6 separate regions of the Homo sapiens genome follow, and regions 2, 3, 4, 5 and 6 are each linked to region 1. Evidence: promoter capture Hi-C in 16 types of primary human blood cells and fetal thymus (Javierre and others, 2016). All regions are on one chromosome and are shown on one strand. The core of a region is centred on a gene start or on the middle of the fragment in contact, and the rest is flanking DNA. Distances in the headings are between cores, read along the strand shown. Region 1 holds the start of MND1 (meiotic nuclear divisions 1). Region 2 overlaps ARFIP1 (ARF interacting protein 1). Region 3 overlaps RNF175 (ring finger protein 175). Region 4 has its middle 9.3 kb from the start of TLR2. Region 5 overlaps TMEM131L (transmembrane 131 like). Region 6 overlaps TMEM131L (transmembrane 131 like).

Region 1 (3,186 bases), core at 468-2,967:
GCTCTCAGTGACACTTAGGATACAGATGCAGCTTAAGTGACCCTTTTTTATATCCATTTAGCACTCATTTTTCCCAAAAGAAGACCTGTTTGGGTCAATTTGTTACTGTCCCAGGGCAGGCTTTTGCACTGTGTCGCTTTAGAGGCAGGGGCGGAGGAAAACTTGGGACTGTAACATCAGTACTGCACAAAGCCCTCTTCCGTATACAGCATAAGCACTATTCTATAAAATCCCCAGCAAGCCTTTGTTTCCTTGCAGTCAGCTCCTTTTCTGCTGATTCTGCCCATTGCTCCCTTGCAACGTATTTTCATGCTTTCTCTAATGATTCTGCCTTTCTTTACTTACAACTGCCTTGGTAAATTTTTCTGCCACAGCGCCACTGGCCTCAGATAGTCACCACTCACCTGCAACAAGCCTGAGAGCCAATTAAGACAAGGCTTTCCCCAAGTAGCACAAATGTATATACCACTACTGTAGTTACTTAATGTACTCATTTATCATTTTAAAATTACCTTATGTACCATCAGTTACATGGTATAACTCTTACAGGAAAAACCAAATTAATGGAACTCTGCAATTCAATGTACCCCTTCCTCTGCCTCCAGCAGAAGCAACAGGGGACATAAATTCCAACTTTAGATGCTACTCTTATAGCATCTACAAGACTTACTACACTGTGTGTGTGTGTGTGTGTGTGTGTGCGTGCGTGTGTGTGTGTTACAGAGTCTCACTCTGTCGCCCAGGCTGGAGTGCAGTGGCGGGGTCTTGGCTCACTGCAACCTCTGCCTCCTGGGTCCAAGCGATTCTCCTGCCTCAGCCTCCCGAGTAGCTGGGATTGTACAGGCGTCCGCCACCACGCCTGGCTAATTTTTGTATTTTTATTAGAGATGGGATTTCACCATGTTGGCCAGGCTGGTCTCAAACTCCCTACCTCAAGTGATTTGCCCGCCTCGGCCTCCCAAATTGCTGGGATTACAGGTGTGAGCCACAGCGCCCAACCGTACTTCTTACACCTAAAAATGGTTCAAAACACCATAGAATAATTTTCAAAATAATTGAATTCTGAGTTAAAATTTTTCAGCACTTTCAGGGGCCTGAGCTTTTGCTATGAATCTGGATCTATTCTCAAGCCATGAAGTAGCGTATTTTTGACCATGTTGATTTGAAATTCATTCCGTTGTTTCCTTCTTTTTTAAAACCTAAGGGAAAAACAAACAGACATACACAGGATTTGAAAAGCTGGAAAGCAGTGGGTAGCGGCTCGGGAGAAGATGAGGGGTCAGATTAGAAGACGAGAAAGGAATCCAGTCCGCCCCAGACAGGACAAGTCCGGAAGGATGGAGGCAGCGTTTCCTTCCTCAACAGCCTAAACGCCTCTATTTTTTACATCCAAACTTAGGCCATATTTCTGCGGCGCCAAGAAAACGCAGTAAAAGCAAAGGCAAGATGTCCTTAAAAAAAAAAAAGGTCACATTCACAGAATACCGAGGAGACGGAGGCAGCTCTGCAACCCGTCCACTGAGACGCGGACACGCTCCCCACAGCCCCGGCCCCAGGCCCGCGCCCCTTCCCCCGCCGGCGGCTCGGATGGGTCGCTAGGGGTCGCTGCGCGCCGCGCGGGCGAGGACCGGCCTCTTTCCCCCACCTCCACCGTCTCGCTGCTCCGCCCCCGCGGCGTAGTCGGCGCCAAAATCAAACGCGTCCTGGCCTGTCCCGCCCCTCTCCCCAAGCGCGGGCCCGGCCAGCGGAAGCCCCTGCGCCCGCGCCATGGTAAGGACTGAGGCTACGGTCCCGCGTCTTCTTCCTCCCTAGTGTGTGGGCTTCGCCGCCCCTCGGCTGCATGTGGATCCCGGCCTGGCGTTGACCGCCATTCCGGGCCGCGGGAGCGGTCGCCCGGCTCTCGGCCTCACCGTGTAGGGGCCCAGCCCGGCCCCGCCGCAGCCACTCCGCACTCTGCGGCGTTCCCCGCCGCTCCTGTCCGGAGTCCCGAGGCGCGGGGGCATCCGCGGCCTCCCCGCCGGCTGCACCCCGCGTCTGTCCCCAGGGCCCGTTCGGGCGGGTTAGGTTAGAACGCGGGAAGCGTTCGCGAACGTGACCCGAGAACTTCACCAACCTGGATTTATCTAAAAGACCACGGGGCCCTTGAGAACCTGGGCTCCCTACGCCTCCAGCTTCGGCCCCGCGTGGTGTAGCCCCCCCCATTAAGAACGGGGAGAGAAAGCGCAAGTGGGCGGGAGGGACTGCGGGGAGCGAACGTCTTGATCCCAAAGCGCACTCCTGGTTTGTCACCATTGAGTGGTTTTCTGTATTGTAATATGTAGAGCACATTCCAGAACTGCTCAGTTTCGAGTTACCTAATGGATCTTCACTGTGTGCCAATTAGTCGATTTCTGTGAAAACGCCCCGGTTTCTGCCAAAGGGCAGGAGTCGCTGCTCTTGTGCCGGGTGCTGCTGGTTGTGTAGGGCGCTGTTGCTTTTTTAAGGACGCTCTGCACTGAATTAGGCTTCCTCGTGGGTCATGATCAGTTAAGTCCTGGTAAGATCGGCTTTGTGAGCTTAACGTCTTTCTGCTCATCAAATCATTTTCATAAACCTTCAAAGTTTCATGCCGTTTTTTCTGCTTCAGTTGGCGAAGAATCAACATCTGGTTAAATGGATCTAAGATTTTAATATCTTCATTTACTTACGTGGCCGTTAAATGTTGCCGAGCTAAGGGGGGCAGGGTGGGACACCAGGATCCAGTTGTATGGTATTTATTTGAAGATATTTGTCCAGATGTAGTTATAAATGATAACGGCTTCTTTGTGGTTAAACTAACAACCCAGCCACCTGGGCGTGAAGTGCTCTAAGGAGCCAAACAGGACTACAGTTAAAACAAATCTGTTAGCAGTGCCCTTCTGTGTTACAATTTTTCTCTGCAGAGTTGCTGGCCTCGTATAACTGACTTGGAGAACTGTGCAGCTCAAACGCGCGTTGTCCTTTTACCTAATCTATCTCTCTACACATGAATCACCTGCTAATACTAAATGTGTTAACTCTTTAGAAGCTTACCTCCGATAATAGAGAATCCTTTTAAAAAATTAAAGCTTTTGATAAGATGTGGACTTCCTATTTTTTAATATGTGATCGAGAAATAAATTTAGTGTTGGTCAAAGGTAAACTTTTGATTGATTATGAATTAATAGC
Region 2 (3,186 bases), core at 321-2,820, 490 kb before region 1:
TATACGGAGGGAAAATAAAATCACATACCTTTACATATCATTATTACTATCCCCTGTCATTCTGCATCAGCATAGGTAGGCAGGCTCATGGAACAGATTTTAAGTGTTTTACAATTTATATTTTAAAATATAGCAACTTACTACCTACCATAACATTAGTGGACTGTATTTTTAATGATCGGTGAAAACTTTCAGCCTAGACAGCGAATATATCAGCTTGGAAGGAATTGCTAACTGAACATCTATAATCATTTCCTGAAAATGTGCCCACCAACATGCAAAAGGTTAGAAACACCCAGTTTAATGGTGAGAGTTAGGGATAAAGCAGAAGCCCTAGATGTGCCAAAGTCTTCAATAAATATTTGAAATTGACTGGAAAGAAGGTAGATGACAATGTTGAGGTGGGGACGAGGGCAGTGAGGAAGGTGACACACAGGAAACGGGGGGGTTGGGTAGGGGCAGAGTTGCACAAGAATGGAAAGCAGTTCTCTACAACAGTTCCTCAAAATAGACTAAGGATCGCCTGCATCAGAATCACCTGATTTCCTTGTTTTGAAATTCGGATTTCTGGGCTTCACATTCCAACTCAGTGAGAATCACCACACAGCTAAGAGCAATCTGCATTTTTAACAGGATCCTCAGGTGATTCCTACTGAAATTAAGGTTTGAGAACTGGTTGTTTAGAAGTACCAATAGAGAGTTTAGAAAATGCTGACCCTGCCTTCTAACAATAGAATATTGATAAGTAGAATGTTGGAAGATAATCAGTTTTATAAAACTCAAGATAATTGTGGAGAAGCAGAGAGGCCACTTAAGGGGGGTTAATAGTGTTACAGAACTGGGGATGTGGAGGCTGTTGTAATAATAGCTTTGCTTCTGGCAGATACTTTTTATAGACAGCTAACTGTTAAACTAACAAAGGAGATTTTAAATTAACAGAATTCATCAAACATTTAACATAAGTGTTTTAGTTTGTTTCTTTAAAAAATTTATTATGTAGATGCTTTGGAAGGTTTTGTCCCTTTTGAAGCATGAGATGTTACTGAGAAAATTTCTTGCCAAATGAAGTAATAGACACTCTGCTAGATGTCAAGAATACAAGTGGTGAACAAGATAGATAAGCTTCCTGATCTTAGCATATGGTCTTCGGAATGGGAAGAGAGGATATAGACAAATTAATTTTAATACCATGTGAAAAATGTTGTGCTAGGCCAAGTATAGCATGGTCTGAGTACTGGTGGGAGCATGGAAAGATTACCTGAGTGATTACTATATAAGCTGAGGTCTGAAGGATGACCTAGCCAGATAAAGGGTGAAAAATATTCTCATCAGAAGCAACTGTAACAACCCGAAGGAAGTGTGAGACCATAGAACTGGAAATTCATGTTGTTGGAATGGAGAATGTGAGGGCAGGTGTGTGAGAAATGAGGCTAGAGAGATAAGTAGATAGTAGATCCTGCAAAACCTTGAAAACCATATTGAAGAGTTTAGTCTTTACCTAAAAGGCAATGGAGAGCCACTAAATGCTATAAAAATGGGAGTGTCTCAGTTGGGTTCACATTTTAGAAAACTGTCTCTGTCTAGTTTGAAGAATTGATTGCGGGACTGACAGTACTAGAGACATGGGAAACAAGTTCAGTCATCAAGGGCAAAAGAGGAGTGAGACTTAGGACATTCTCAAGGATATATATTTTAAAACAAATTTACTGAACATTTTGTGTTCTTCATGTGTTGGTTTTACACTACAGTTCAAAAGTATTACCATGCTAAATTTTAAGTTCTAAACTTATGTTTTTAATGTCATAATTATAGTAACCTCTATTAAAATATGCAAAATGGAGACGTTATTTTTCACAGCTTTATGAAAGCTATTACTACAAATATTACTTTGTATTCTTTTAAAAGTACCTAAAATGTACAAAAATGTATTTGGAGCTTTTGCCAAAAGCATATTTTGTTTTAGCTTAATTGTTTGAAAAATATTTTTAAAAACTATTAAATACTCAAGCATTATGCTAAAAGCTTGAATAAAAGGTTAACTCAGGTTTATCCCATTTTATTATACACTTGTTAAGCTTGGCCTTGCAAAGTGTTAAACTTTGAATTGAATGTCAGCAACATAAAAATGCAAATTAGGAATTTTATGTTGTTAATTATAAATGGGTCCATTGTCTCTGAAATATAGTCTGGAAAATATAGGAGTAAATTCAGTAGCAGATACTTTATAAGTTGCTAAGCTAGGCACAGACTTATATAACTGATACACTTAAAAAATTTAAGGGTTGGCCAGGCGCGGTGGCTCATGCCCGTAATCCTAGCACTTTGGGAGGCTGAGGCGGGCGGATTGTCAGAGCTCAGGAGTTCGAGACCAGCCTGGGCAACACGGTGAAACCCTGTCTCTACTAAAATACAAAAGAAATTAGCCAGGTGTGGCAGCGTGTGCCTATATTCCCAGCTACTCAGGAGGCTGAGGCAGGAGAATTGCTTGAACCTGGGAGGCGGAGGTTGCAGTGAGCCAAGATCACGCCATTGCACTACAGCCAGGTGACAGAGCGAGACTCCGTCTCAAAAAAAAAAAAAAATTTCGGGTTATGTAAAGAAAGCACATTTAAAATTTTGGTGAACTGTGAGGCTATATAATATTACTTAGAGAATGAGTATTTTATTGAAAACAACAAACTCATAAAATCCCTAGTATTATCTCACAAGTCATAAATTCGTCTCACATAGCCCCTATTATTTTGTGTTTCATTTAGCTGCCAAACCACATCAGAATGATAGTTCTCTTCAGAATTGGAATTCAACCTATTTGTATCATTTTTGGTTAGGCTCCTTCTGTTAGTAGCAGCTTAGGCATAGGAAGGCCTTAGTGATTTTCAGATTTTACACCTGTTTTACCTATAGGACAGTAGAGTTTTCTTCTGGAAGAACTTTTGTTTGTTTAGTAAAGAACCCCAGCAGACAGTAGGGAGGGATTTGAGTGACTGTAATGTCCTCAGCTACAGTTGTCTCCATTTGCATTTAAGATTTTTATTGATATGTTTTGTTGTTCTCATATTGTTAATTGGTTTTTGGTTATTTTGTATAATCTTTGTTCCTTTCTTTTTGCCTGATTGTTTCTCATTATGGTTTGGTGGTTTTCTGTATTGGTGCCGTTTGAGTCTTTTCTCTTTGTCATTTATGTGT
Region 3 (3,186 bases), core at 206-2,705, 390 kb after region 1:
GGAAATCATCCAGTTTCTCACCATTAAGTATGTCAGTTGTAGGCTTTCTGTAGGCACTCTTTATCAAGTTGGGAAATTCCCTTTTATTCCTAGTTTGCTGAGAGTTTTACATGAATGCATGCTAGACCTTGCCAAATGCTTCTGCTACATCTATTGATATGATCACAGGACTTTCTTCTTTAGCCTCTTGATGTGATTATTTACATAAATTGATTTTTAATTGTTGAGTCAGCCTTTCATATCTGGAATAAATCTCACTTGATTGTGGTGTATAATTCATTTTATACATTGTTGGATTTGCTCTGCTAATATTTTGATGAAGATTTTTGGATTTATGTTTTTGAGAGATTTTGGTCTACAGTTTCCTTTCCTTGTAATGTCTTCATATGGTAAGTCTTGAAATTGGGCAGTGTCAGTCCTCCAACTTTGTCTTTCTGGTTTTTTTATGAGGGTAATGCTGGCCTCAATGAATGAATTTGCAAGTACTCCCTCTGTTTCTATTTTCTGGGAGAGATTGTAGAGAACTGGTATCATTTCTTCTTTAAATGTTTGGTAGAATTTACCAGTGAAACAACCTGGGCTTGGTGCTTTCTTTTTTGGAAGGTTATTAATTATTGATTGAAATTTTAAATTGATATAGGCCTATTCAGTTCATCTATTTCTCCTTGTGCGAGTTTTGGTATAGTTTGTGTCTTTCAAAGAATTAGCCCACCTCATCTAATTTATCCAAATTTGTGTGCACAGAATTGTTTGTAGCCTTTTCTTTTTATGTCCATGGGATTAGTAATGATGATCTCATTTTCTTTTCTCTTTTTTCAGGGAGACAGGGCCTCTCTCTGTGACCCAGGCTGGAATGCAGTGGCACAACCATAGCTCACTGTACCTCCAACTCCTGGGCTTAAGCAATCCTCCTGCCTCAGCCTCCTGAGTAGCTAGGACTACAGGCACGTGCCATGATGCCTGGCTAATTTTCAAATTTTTTGTAGAGATGGGGTCTCATTATGTTGCCCAGGCTGGTCTTGAACACTTGGCCTCAAGTGATCCTCCCACCTCAGCCTCCCAAGTGCTGGGATGACAGGTGTGAGTCACTAAGCCTAGCCCAATTTTCTTTTATAATATTAGTAATTTGTGTTTTCTCTTTTTTTTTTCTTGGTTAGTCTGGCTAGAGGTTTATCAGATTTATTGATCTTTTCAAAGAACCAGCTTTTGGTTTCATTGTGTTTCCTCTACTGATTTCCTATTTTTAATTTCATCAATTTTTGCCAAAATTTATATTATTTATTTTCTGTTTGTTGTAGGCATAAATTACTCTTCCTTTTCTAGTTTCCTCAGGTGGATTTTTAGATTATTGATTTTAGACTTTTCTTCTTTTCTAATATATGCATTCAATGGTATAAATTTTCCTCTAAGCACTGCTTTTGCTGCATCCCAGAAATTTTGATAAGTTGCATTTTCATTTTCATTTAAATTATTTTAAAATTTCTCTGGAGTTTCTTCTTTGACCCATGTGTTATTTAGTATTATGTTATTTAATCTGAAAATATTTTGGAATTTTCCATGCTTTCTGTTATTAATTTCTAGTTTAATTCATTGTGGTTTGAGAGCATAGATTGTATAATTTCTATTCTTTTAAATTTATTTTGGAGTGTTTTATGGCTCAGAATGTGGTGTATTTTGGTGAATGTTCCATGTGATGTCAAGAAGAATATATACTCTGTTGTTGTTGGATGAAGTATTCTATAAATATCATTTAGAGCAAGCTGATGAATGGAACTGTTCAGTCAATTATGTCCTTACTAATTTTATGCCTGCTTGATCCATCAACTACTAAAAGATGTATTAAAATCTTTAACTATAATGGTCAATTTGTTGATTTCTCTTTGCAGTTCTATCAGTTTTTGTCTCACATATTTTGATGCTCTTTTGTTAGATGCATACATATTAAGAATTTCTTCTTGAATAACTGACCCCTTTATCATTATGTAATGCCCTTTCTTTCTTTCTTTTTTTGAGGCAGAGTCTCACTCCGCTGCCCAGGCTGGAGTGCAGTGGAGAGATCATGGCTCATTGCAGCATTGACCTCCTGGGCTCAAGCCATTTTCCCATCTCAGCCTCTGGAGTAGCTGGGACTACAGGAGCATGCCACTATGCCTGGCTAATTTTTAAATTATTTATAGAGATGGGGTTTCATCATGTTACCCAAGCTGGTTTTGAACTCCTAGGCTCAAGCGATCCTCCCTCCTCAGCCTCCAAGTAGCTGGAACTACAGGTGCCTGCCGCTACATCTGGCTAATTTTTTTTTTTTTTTGGTAGAGATAAGGTGTCACTTTGTTGCCCAAGCTGGTCTCGAGCTCTTGGCTCAAGCAGTCCTCCTACCTTGGGCTCTCAAAGTGCTGGAATTACAGGCATGAGCCACTGTGCCAAGCCAAATGCCCTTTCTTATCCCTGATAATTTTCCTTGTTCTGAAGTCCACTTTGTCTGAAATTAATATAGCTGGTCCAGCTTTCTTTTGATTAGTGTTAGTATGGAATATCTTTTTCCAAATCTTTACTGTTGATATATCTGTAACAACATATAATTGCATCTTGTTTTTGTAAATTAATCCACTCTGAAAATCTTTGTATTTTAATTTTTATATTTAGACCATTCACATTTGAAGTGATTATTGATATAGTTGGATTAATATCTACCATGTATGTAACTATTTTCTATTTGTTGCACTTGTTCCTTGCATCTTTCTCCCTCTCTCTCTGCCTTCTCTGGTTTTAACTGGGTATTTTATGAGATTCCATTTTCTCTCCTCTATTAGTATATCAATTATACTCCTTTACAATTATTTCTAGTGGTTTCTCCAGAGTTGCAAAATACATCCATAACTAATCCAAGTCCGTTCTCAAATAACACTTACAGCTTTGTTGGTATTATAGGTACCTTATAACAGAAATCCCAATTCCTCCCTCCCATTTCTTATAATACTGCTATCATTCATTTCAGTTATCCATATAACATAATCACCCAATACACTGTTCCTATGTTTACTTTGAACAATTAATCTATTAGAGGAATTAAGAAAAAGAAATAGGGCCGGGTGAGGTGGCTCATGCCAGTAATCCCAGCACTTTGGGAGACTGAGGTGGGCGGATCATGAGGTCAGGAGTTTGAGACCAGCCTGACCAACATGGTGA
Region 4 (3,186 bases), core at 449-2,948, 330 kb after region 1:
ATATGTGGAATGTATATATGTGGAATGTATATATGTGGAATGTATATATGTGGAATATATATATATGTGGAATATATATATGGAATACATATATATAAAAAAGGAATATATATATATATATAAAGGGTATATATATATATATATATGTAAAGGGAAGTTTATATATATGTTATATATATATTCCATTACTTCTGTCCCTCCAGAGAACCCTAATACAGTTCTTGCTTTTCTAGTTCCTTGAAGTGTATCATTAGGTAAGTTTATTTGATGTATTTTTACTTTCTTGATGTAGACATTTATTGCTATAAACCTCCTTCTTAGTATTGCTTTTGCTGTATCTTATAGATTTGGGTATGTTATATTTCCATTTCTATTTGTTTCAAGAAATTTTAATTTTTTCTTCTTAATTTCTTCATTGACCCATTGGTCATTCAGGAGCATGTTGTTTCATTTTTATGTGTATGTGTAGTTTCCAAGATTCCTCTTGTTATTGACTTCTAGCTTTATTCCATTGTGGTCAAAAACAATATTTGATATGATTTCTCCTTTTTGAGTTTGTTGAGACTTGTTTTGTGGGCTAAAATATGGCAGACTCTGGAGAATGTTCCATGTGCTGATTCAAAAGAATGTGTATTCTGCAGCAGTTGGGTGAAATGCTCTGCAAATGTCAGTTAGGTCTATTTGGTCTAGTGTGTAGTTTAATTCTGATGTTTCCTTGTTGATTTGCTGTCTGCATGACTTGTCCATTGAAGTCCCTTACTATTACTGTACTGCAGTCTACGTCTCCCTTGAGCTCCATTATGTTTGCCTTATATACTTCGGTGCTCTGCTGTTGGGTGCATAGATATTTATAATTGTTATAGCCTCTTGCAAATCGACCCCTTTATTCTCATATAGTGACCTTCTTTGGCTCTTTTTATAGTTTTTTACTTTATTTTATCTGACATAAGTATAGCTACTCCTGTTTTTTTGTTTGTTTTTACTTGCATGGAATATCATTTTTCATCACTTCACTTTCAATTTATGTGGGTTTTTATAGATGAGGTGGGTTTCTTATAGCTGGATCTTGTTTCATTATCCATTCAGCCATTTTATGTCTTTTAATTGAAGAATTAAATCCATTTACATTTAGTGTTATTATTGATAAGGGCTTACTACTGCTATTTTGTTGCTTGTGTTCTCCTTTTTAAACTCCTTTCTTACTGTCTTCCTTTGTGGTTAAGTGATTGTTTTGGTAGTATGTTTTAATTTATTGCTTTTTATTTTTAGTGTATCTATTATAGGTTTTTGCATTGTGGTCACCATGAAGCTTACAAAAAATGTCTTATAGATATAACAAGTTGTTTTAAAGAGATGATAATTTATCTTAGATCAGAAAAAAGAATAGAAACAAAGAACAAACTTAAAAAACAAAAAACCCTCTATACATTGACTCCAATACCCCCCACATTTTGACTTTTCTTTTCTCAGTTTACATACTTTTATATTGTCTGTCTGTTAATAAGTTGCTATAGCTATTATTGTTTTGCATATACTTGCCTTATAGGTTTCCTACTAGAGTTTTGAGTGGATTGCATACCATAATTACAGCACTGGAGTATTCTTGGGTTGTCTTCATACTAGTGGGTTTTATACCTTCAAATGTTTTCTTTTTGCATGTTAGTGTTTTTTTTTTCTTTCAAATTGAAGAACTCCCTTTAGCATTTCTTGTAAGACAGGTCTGGTGGTTGTGACTTCTCTTAGCTTTTGTTTGTCTGGGAAGAGTTAATTTCTCTTTCATATATGAAGAATAGCCTTTCCAAATATAGTATTCTTGGGTGGCAGGGTTTTTTCAGAACATTGAAAATGTTGTTGCGTACCCTCCTGGCCTGTATGGTTTTCGTTGATAAGTCTGTTGCCAGATGAATTGGAGTTTCTTTGTATGTTACTTGCTTCTTTTCTCTTGCTGCTTTTAGGATCCTCTCTTTATCCTTGACATTTGGGAGTTTGATTATTTTATGCCTTGATGTAGTCTTATTTGGGATGAATCTGTTTGGTATTCTCTGACCTTCCTCTACATGGACATTTATATCTTTTTCAATTTTTGGAAAGCTTTCTGTTACTATTTATTTGAATAAGCTTTCCATCCCTTGCTCTTGCTCAACTACCTCTTGAACAACAATAAATTTTAGACTTGGTCATTTCCATGTATTTTAGGTAAACTTTCTTCCTGTTCAATCTTTTTTCTCTTTTGACTGTGTGATATTGAATAGGCTATCTTCAAGCCAACTGATTCCTTCCTTTGCTTGATCTATTCTGCTGTTGAGACCCTCTAATAAATTTTTCATTTCAGCAAATGTTTTTTCAGTTCCAAGATTTGTTTGATTTTTAAAATTATTATTTCAATCTCTTTGTTAAATTTCTCTGATAAATTTCTGAATTGCTTTTCTGTGTTATCCTGAAGGCCACTGAGTTTCCTTAAAATTGCTATTTTGAATTATTTGTCAGAGAGCTCATGTATCGCCATCTTCTTAGGGCCTGTCATGGGTATCTTGCTTTGTCCAGTTAGGGAGGTTTTGGTTCCCTATTTGCTGTTGTTTCTTGTGGATATACCTCTATGTCTTTGCATTGAAGGATTTGTTATTTATTCCAGTCTTTTCTGGCTTGTTTTGGTTTTTATTTGGTATATTTGCCTAGAGATTCTTTGTAATTTACTTGTTAATTTCTTATTTCCCCCACCACTAAGTTGCCACCTCCTTTTTGGTGCTAGATGATGCCTTAAGCACAGGTTTGCCTCAGCTCTAGCAAAGAATCAGAGTGCTGCAAGTCCCAAATGGAAGAAGTCCCAGTGGGGATATCTTGCCAATTTGGGAAGGCTGGCTAGAGGTTCATGCCCAAGGGACCTGTGGAAGGTAATTCCTAAAGCTAGTGCTGCTAAACAGTCACTCTGATTTGGCATCTCCTTTGGCTTAATTACAGAGCAGAGTTTCCAGGGCTGGGCAAGGTAGTCCCACCTCTCACCTTGACTTTTGCTGTTTGCAGGGATATTTCTTTCTTCAGGCACTTGTGATGCTTTCTGTGGGTTGAGGCAGGTACAGTTCCCCTGCCAGGGAGCCGAAGGTGATGGGGAAGCTGCTTGTCGACCTCTATCTCACTTTTTCCAGGGTAGAAACTATGAGTGGGGAGGAATTTTCCCCATGCTTCATG
Region 5 (3,186 bases), core at 470-2,969, 280 kb after region 1:
CAGCACTGATAACGTTCTGTGCATGTGCATCTACCACAGAAGACTGAAGGTTTGCCTGATGATTCCAGTGTGGGATTTTAAAAATGGAGGCCGGGCGCAGTGGCTCACACCTGCAATCCCAGCACTTTGGGAGGCCGAAGCAGACAGATCACTTGAGGTCAGGAGTTCAAGACCAGCTGGCCAACGTAGCAAAACCCCATCTCTACTAAAAATTCAAAAACCAGCTGGGCGTGGTGACGAGCGCCTGCAGTTACAGCCACTGGGAGGCTGAGGCAGGAGGCGGAGGTTGCAGTGAGCCGAGATCGCCACTGCACTCCAGCCTGGGTGACAAAGCGAGACTCTGTCTCGACAAAAAAAAAGGGGGTACATTAGTTAAGAAAAACTACAAGTGTGTCTTTTGCTTGAGGGAAAGGCTAACATTAGTAGAATGATGAAAATTATTAATGGTGTTGCTGTACAGTAGCATAGTATGCAGTCTTCAAGTTGCATTTGAAGGTTATATAATAGTAGGGAAATGTCCCCAGTGTAATAAATGGTGTAAAAAAACAAAAGACAATGTATATGTGAAATATGATTCCAATTTTATACATATACACACACATAAAGGAGACTGTAAAGAACTTTGGGAGGCCGAGGCAGGTGGATCACCTGAGGTCAGGAGTTCAAGATCACCCTGGCCAACATGGCAAAACCCCATCTCTACTAAAAATACAAAAATTAGCTGGGCATGGTGGTGCACACCTGTAATCCCACCTACTTGGGAGGCTGAGGCAGGAGAATTGGTTGAACCCGGGAGGTGGAAGTTGCAGTGTGCCGAGATCACACCATTGCACTCCATCCTGGGCAACAGAGTGAGACTCTGTCTCAAAAAAAACAAAACAACAACAACAAAAAGAGATTGTAAAGAAATATACCTAAATGTTCATAATTGTAGTATAATTGCACGATTCATGTTTAATGTTTAATTAAAAAATGTGAGAATATCAGTTTAAAGTGAAAAATCAGTCATGCATTAATGATATTAATAACCTATGCATTTTAATACCGAATATACAGTTGAAGTGTACTTTTTGAAACTTGTGATAATGTGTTTCTTTTAATGCAGGAGACAGTGTTTCACAAAATGATTTTCCTTCTGAAGCTCCCATCTCCTTGAATCTTTCTCATAACATCTGCAATCCCATGTAAGTTTTTTATTTTCCAGCTTTTACAGTATGTTTTGTGTACTGCTTTTTCTACCAATTATTGTGTTTCTTCTTTGTACTTGGTTCTGCAGGTTAAAATATGAAAACTTTTTAAAGATGCAGGAAAGTAAAATCTGATTTTATTAATTCAGGAGTGGCGCAAGTAAACATGGTTCATGTGGGAGAGGCTCAGGTATCGCTATTTTTTTTCAGACAGGTAGCCACGTTGGAAAATACCTAAGTTTTGAGGCCAGCCGTGGTGGTTCACACTTGTAATCCTAGCACTTTGGGAGGCCAGGGTGGGAGGATCTCTTGAGTCCAGGAGTTCAGGACCAGTCTGGGTAACATAATGAAACTCCATCTCTAAAAAGAATTTCGTTTTTTCTTTTTAAATTAGGCGTAGCGGCGCATGCCTGTATTTCCAGCTACTCGCTGAGGCTAAGGTGGGAGGATCCCTTGATCCCAGGAGATCGAGGCTGCAATGAGCTATGATCACACCACTACACTCTAGCCTGGGTAACAGAGCGAGATCCTGTCTCAGAAAAGAACACCTTATTTCTGAATATAGAAGGAGGAAGCAGTAGTTATTATAAAGATGGGAATCATTTACCCTTTGCTAGGCCTTGAAATAAAACTGAGCATTGATAATTGAGGAAATTTTGCAAGAACCTAGTAGATACATGTTTCCAGTTCTGCCCTATGATGATTTCTGCAGCACTGGACAAAATAAACAAGTACAATTTATTGAGTGAGAGACGAGGAGCGTGGGTAAGAAGGAGGAGAGTTCAGTGTGAGAAATGAACTTGGTTTCTTAGGTACCTCCCTCTTGGTAAGAGGACAAAGGATGCAGTTAAGAGGGTGAGTTTGTGAGGAAGGAAACTTGACTAGTGCACAGGAAAGCTCTTCATGGGTTTATTGGGGGTAGGTTGTCAGCAAAGGAGTAAGAGTTGCTGCTAACTGCTAGCCTAGGCACACTCCCCAGTCAGCCTCCTTCCCTTGGGCCACGCATCTCCCTTCTGTACTTTTCTGTCATCTCTGACTAGGGAAGGTGAACTACCTGGAAATACAGACAGGTGGCTACCTGTCTGAAAATCTACCTGACGGGTAGATTTAAAACCACAGGTTACCTCATAGTTATGTTAGTTAATTTTTTTTGTTGTTGGTTATGACAAGACTTTGCTAGATTTGGGAATTTAATATTCCTCAATTCTTTTCTGGCTGTGTAACTTTACATCCTTTATATCTGTATGTTTCTTCCCCAAGAAACTCTTCCCCAAGACTTCAATTGAGTGAAAACTCAATCAGACGTGGTTATACAATATCAGTATTTCCTCGTGCAGAAAAAATGAGTCGTTCCTCCTTTGCCCTCTTCCCCACAGGACCGTGAATAGTCTCCCACAATACGCAGAGCCTTCCTGTCCCAGCCTTCCTGCCGGGCCCACAGGTGTTGAAGAAGATAAAGGTGAGATGCATTCGTCTTGCTGCAGACATCAGCCAAGGGTTCTGTGCTGTCTGTATTCCTGGCTGATGAGTTTGAGAAGACAGAGCAGGCGGGGTGGGACAGGGCCATTTCCCCACCAGCCCCTTCTGCAAGCCACACGTTCATACATCAGGAAGGCACCTACTCTGTGGACGGGCATCATTGGGGCCCCAGCTGACCTTGTGCATCAATAGTGAGCCCCCTCCCTACAGCTGAGGCACAGATGCCCTATGTCCTGGAATAATCCCAGGCCCCTCACAGCAGACTCCTGATTCATTTAGTTCACCTTCCCTAGTCAGAGATGACAGAAAAGTACAGAAGGTAGATGCGTGGCCCAAGGGAAGGAGGCTGATTGGGGAGTGTGCCTAGGCTGAGGGTGCAGCACCTCACCTGCTTACCACTTTCCCTGGCCTGCTTCCCTTCCTCCCCAACTCACTTTGTGTTAGAAGCCTACTAATTCAGCCTCAGCAGCCTTGGGGACCCGCCTTGCTCAGGCATCAGTGCTGAGACCTTCTGCCTGCG
Region 6 (3,186 bases), core at 273-2,772, 260 kb after region 1:
TATATATAAGAACCTTTAAGTTTTTACTTCCAGCTTTGAGCATTAGTTCTTTGCTAGCTTTGAAAAGTATTTTACTTTGTGAAATGTGTGCTGTTTCCATTGTAAGATCTTTTCTAGAATCTGAAGAAAACAGCTTGGTCTTTGAGCTGGACTCAACCTGCCTGATAGCTGAGAATCCTAAGTGCCAGTCACGTTGTCTCCTGTGTGACTGGCAGTTAGGATTCCAGCAGAATGGGAACTCACTCAGTGTGTTTGCCACATTTTAGCCATTTCTCCCAAAGTATACAAATGGTCTGTAGAAACCATTCTAGTCATAAGATTGCCTTTAAAGGGAAAAAGGGAAAGGTGGGGACAGTCCCGCCTCTTAAGAATACCTTAAGTGATTTTCCTAACTATCAGAACTCCTGGAGGCACCTGAATAATCTGCCTTCTCCTATTCTGAGGCTTCCCCCCACCCCCGGGTGTAGCTTATTGTGTGAGAAGAAAATGTTCTAGGGTATGTATGAATGGCTTTGACTACATACTTGCCATCAAGAAACATAATATTTTGTAAGTAATAGAAAATGTGTCATATTTGGGAGGCCGTGATGGGCAGATCACTTGAGCCCAGGAGTTCCAGGCCAGCCTGGGCAACCTGGTGAAACTCCATCTCTACCCAAAGAAGTATATGTATATGTATAGTAGCCAAATGTAGCCAGGCATGGTGGTACATGAGCATGGGCCTGTGGTCCCAGCTACTTGGGAGGCTGAGGTGGGAGAATCACTTGAACCCAGGAGGTCAAGGCTGCAGTGAGCTGTGATTGTGCCACCGCACTCCAGCCTGGGCAATGAGTGAGACCCTGTCTCAAAAATAAAAGCAAAAACAAAAAATGAAAAAAAAAATGTGTCCCTTTTCTACTCCATTTCCCCTGCCTGCTTCGGAGAGGCCTGTAGTAAATAATTAATTAAAATTCTCAATAGAAATAAAGTCTGCTGACATTCTTTAGGGCTCTGTTTTTCTACACTTGTTTTTTGGCATCAACTTGTCAAACAACTATCAAACAGTTAAACTTGTCAAACATTCGTTATACGTTCCAGAACCTCTTGGTCATCTGACAAGAGTGGGGCTTTATGTGTAATGTAAATGATCTTGTGAATATAGCTCTTTTTAAATGTTTGTAACCATTTTCACTGTCTGATCAAAATAATGTAGATTAGAGTTATGGCTAAAGACAAGCTATGGTTGGCCGCAGCACTACCAAGGAGAAATAGTGAGCAAATTATTTCACGGGTTTCTACCTGTAATAATGTAAAGGTATAATTAAATTTGATAATAGCTCAAGCCTTGAGCTTAACAGTACCTGAAAGTTTTCACTGAATTACATTCCTCACCTTTCTGAAATTATTGGTATTTGCAGAAATTCCAAAAATGTTCCTATTTACTTACAGATACTATTAACTTGAAATGAAGATTTAATGGTTTATTCAAAACAGACCACGTGATTGTGATTAGATTTGAGACAGTACAACTTTAAGCAGGTTACTGAGGAGATCACTTGTGTCTTGTTCTTCCATTTGTTTCTGTTTTTTAACCACTTTTAAAAGGAATTACTGACCTATAAAGCTGTACATACTTAATGTATGCATCTTGATGAGTTTGGGAATAAGTGTACATCGTGAAACCATTACCACCGTGAAGGGCATTAACATGTGCACCTCCCAACGTCTTCTCCTGCCCCCTTTATTATTATTAGTGTTCTTTCCATTTGTTTTTGATTTTTAACTGTGGTACACTCTTACTCAGTGAGGTCATGGGGAAGTTGCACACTTAATAGGATGACTTGGTGTATTAGGCTGTTTTTCACTGCCATAAAGAAATACCAGAGACTGGATAATTTATAAAGAGGTTTAATTGGCTCACAGTTCTGTGGGCTGTACAGGCTTCTGCTTCTGGGGAGACCTTAGGAAACACAGTTATGGTGGAGGGGTAAAGGGGAAGCAAGCACGTCTTGCATGGTGGGAGCAGGAGGAAGAGAGAGTGAAGGGGGAAGTGCTACACACTTTTAAACAACTAAATCTCGTGAGAACTCTCTCACTATCATGAGAACAGCCAGGGAGAAGTCAGCCCCCATGATCCAGTCACCTCCCACCAGGCCCCTCCTCCAACATTGAGGATTACAATTTGACATGAGATTTGGGTGGGGACACAGAACCAAACCATATTGCATGGATTGACCCCATTTGTAAATGACGTATGTGTTTGGTATCCCATATTCTTGAATGCTTTCATGTTAGAATTTCTCAGAGTCACTGCAGAACTTGTTGTTAACATTCATTTTATTGTTTGTCCTGATTCTTGGCCCCATAGAAGGCATTACTGATTTTCTAAAAGTCTGCACATTATTACTTTTTGGGGATGGTTTTGTACTGGCTATTAAATTTGGATCCTTCCTAAGAAACTTTGATGACTAATACTTTTAGTACTATATTCTTGGCCTGAAGAAAACTTAAGGAAATCCATTTTCTCACAAATTAGGACACCAGGAGAGTAATGGCACCTATTTTTTTGAGGCAAATATCTGTATTGTATTTCATACTTATGGCTTCCAGAATCCAAAGGGATATTCTTCTTATGCTTTCTTTTTCTGGTACGGACCCTGTCTGCCTTGCTTTTGGCTGTCTGCTTTACTGTTTCATAGTGCTTGATGTTTTCCTTTGTGGATATCTAACCGCCAGTTTGTGTTTTAGAAGGAATTAAATTTCAAAGGTGATCTGTCCTAAAGAATGACTTTTAATTTTGACAAGGTAGGAAATGGAGGGTAATGATGATTCCACAGGGCTGCTGTTAGATGCTCTTGGTTCGGAAATGCACAGGTTTGAAAGGGATCTGAAAGTTGTGTCCCAGCAGTCCTCTAAATGAAGTTGATCTAAACCCTCTAGGCAAATAGTTGACTGTCCTATAGAGACAGAAATTCCCGGGAAATAGCATTAGTAGCCTTTGATTCAGATCTTCACTAATTCTAAGTTATTCCCGGTTATTAAAGGAAGCAGTTGATAGTGATCAGCTTTGTCTCTGGATATGACTTTGGCCATTGTATTTCCATCACAGCCAAAAGCATTAAAAACATGCCATGATGCTTTATTTTATTTATGTAATGAGTCTGGCCAAAGGATTATTTTCTGTATTCATTTTGTGACATTTGGAGA

What was found. Contacts are between HindIII fragments. The CHiCAGO score rates a contact against its expected background, and 5 or more counts as called.
Region 2: a contact is called between a fragment that was not itself captured here and the fragment with the promoter of MND1 in region 1, in 4 of 17 cell types (naive B cells, total B cells, naive CD8 T cells and 1 more). The highest score is 9.9, in naive B cells.
Region 3: a fragment that was not itself captured here is called in contact with the fragment with the promoter of MND1 in region 1 in 1 of 17 cell types (M2 macrophages); the score reaches 7.2 in M2 macrophages.
Region 4: a fragment that was not itself captured here is called in contact with the fragment with the promoter of MND1 in region 1 in 1 of 17 cell types (endothelial precursors); the score reaches 5.1 in endothelial precursors.
Region 5: a contact is called between a fragment that was not itself captured here and the fragment with the promoter of MND1 in region 1, in 10 of 17 cell types (activated CD4 T cells, naive CD4 T cells, non-activated CD4 T cells and 7 more). The highest score is 10.3, in activated CD4 T cells.
Region 6: a contact is called between a fragment that was not itself captured here and the fragment with the promoter of MND1 in region 1, in 10 of 17 cell types (activated CD4 T cells, naive CD4 T cells, non-activated CD4 T cells and 7 more). The highest score is 11.8, in activated CD4 T cells.

Annotation. Positions count from the first base shown.
Region 1 is chr4:153,342,971-153,346,156 of GRCh38, forward strand. It overlaps MND1 (meiotic nuclear divisions 1), which reads left to right and starts at 1,718. Exons shown (of 8, transcript NM_032117.4): 1 at 1,718-1,770. The coding sequence starts at 1,768. RefSeq lists silencers at 1,487-1,796, 1,927-2,086 and enhancers at 2,567-2,626, 2,707-2,826. The HindIII fragment of the contact is 6,712 bases long and covers 1-3,044 here.
Region 2 is chr4:152,850,065-152,853,250 of GRCh38, forward strand. The region is part of intron 2 of ARFIP1 (ARF interacting protein 1); the gene reads left to right. Among named protein-coding and RNA genes, the nearest start is that of ARFIP1, 72 kb to the left of the region's middle. RefSeq lists enhancers at 353-647, 534-1,192. The HindIII fragment of the contact is 900 bases long and covers 1,121-2,020 here.
Region 3 is chr4:153,736,058-153,739,243 of GRCh38, forward strand. The region is part of intron 3 of RNF175 (ring finger protein 175); the gene reads right to left. Among named protein-coding and RNA genes, the nearest start is that of RNF175, 22 kb to the right of the region's middle. The HindIII fragment of the contact is 8,364 bases long and covers 1-3,186 here.
Region 4 is chr4:153,673,423-153,676,608 of GRCh38, forward strand. It overlaps the pseudogene LOC100419170. Among named protein-coding and RNA genes, the nearest start is that of TLR2, 9.3 kb to the right of the region's middle. The HindIII fragment of the contact is 782 bases long and covers 1,308-2,089 here.
Region 5 is chr4:153,625,042-153,628,227 of GRCh38, forward strand. It overlaps TMEM131L (transmembrane 131 like), which reads left to right. Exons shown (of 35, transcript NM_001131007.2): 30 at 1,106-1,184; 31 at 2,564-2,646. Among named protein-coding and RNA genes, the nearest start is that of TLR2, 58 kb to the right of the region's middle. The HindIII fragment of the contact is 9,544 bases long and covers 1-3,186 here.
Region 6 is chr4:153,607,274-153,610,459 of GRCh38, forward strand. All of the region lies in intron 25 of TMEM131L (transmembrane 131 like), which reads left to right. Among named protein-coding and RNA genes, the nearest start is that of TLR2, 75 kb to the right of the region's middle. The HindIII fragment of the contact is 8,401 bases long and covers 1-3,186 here.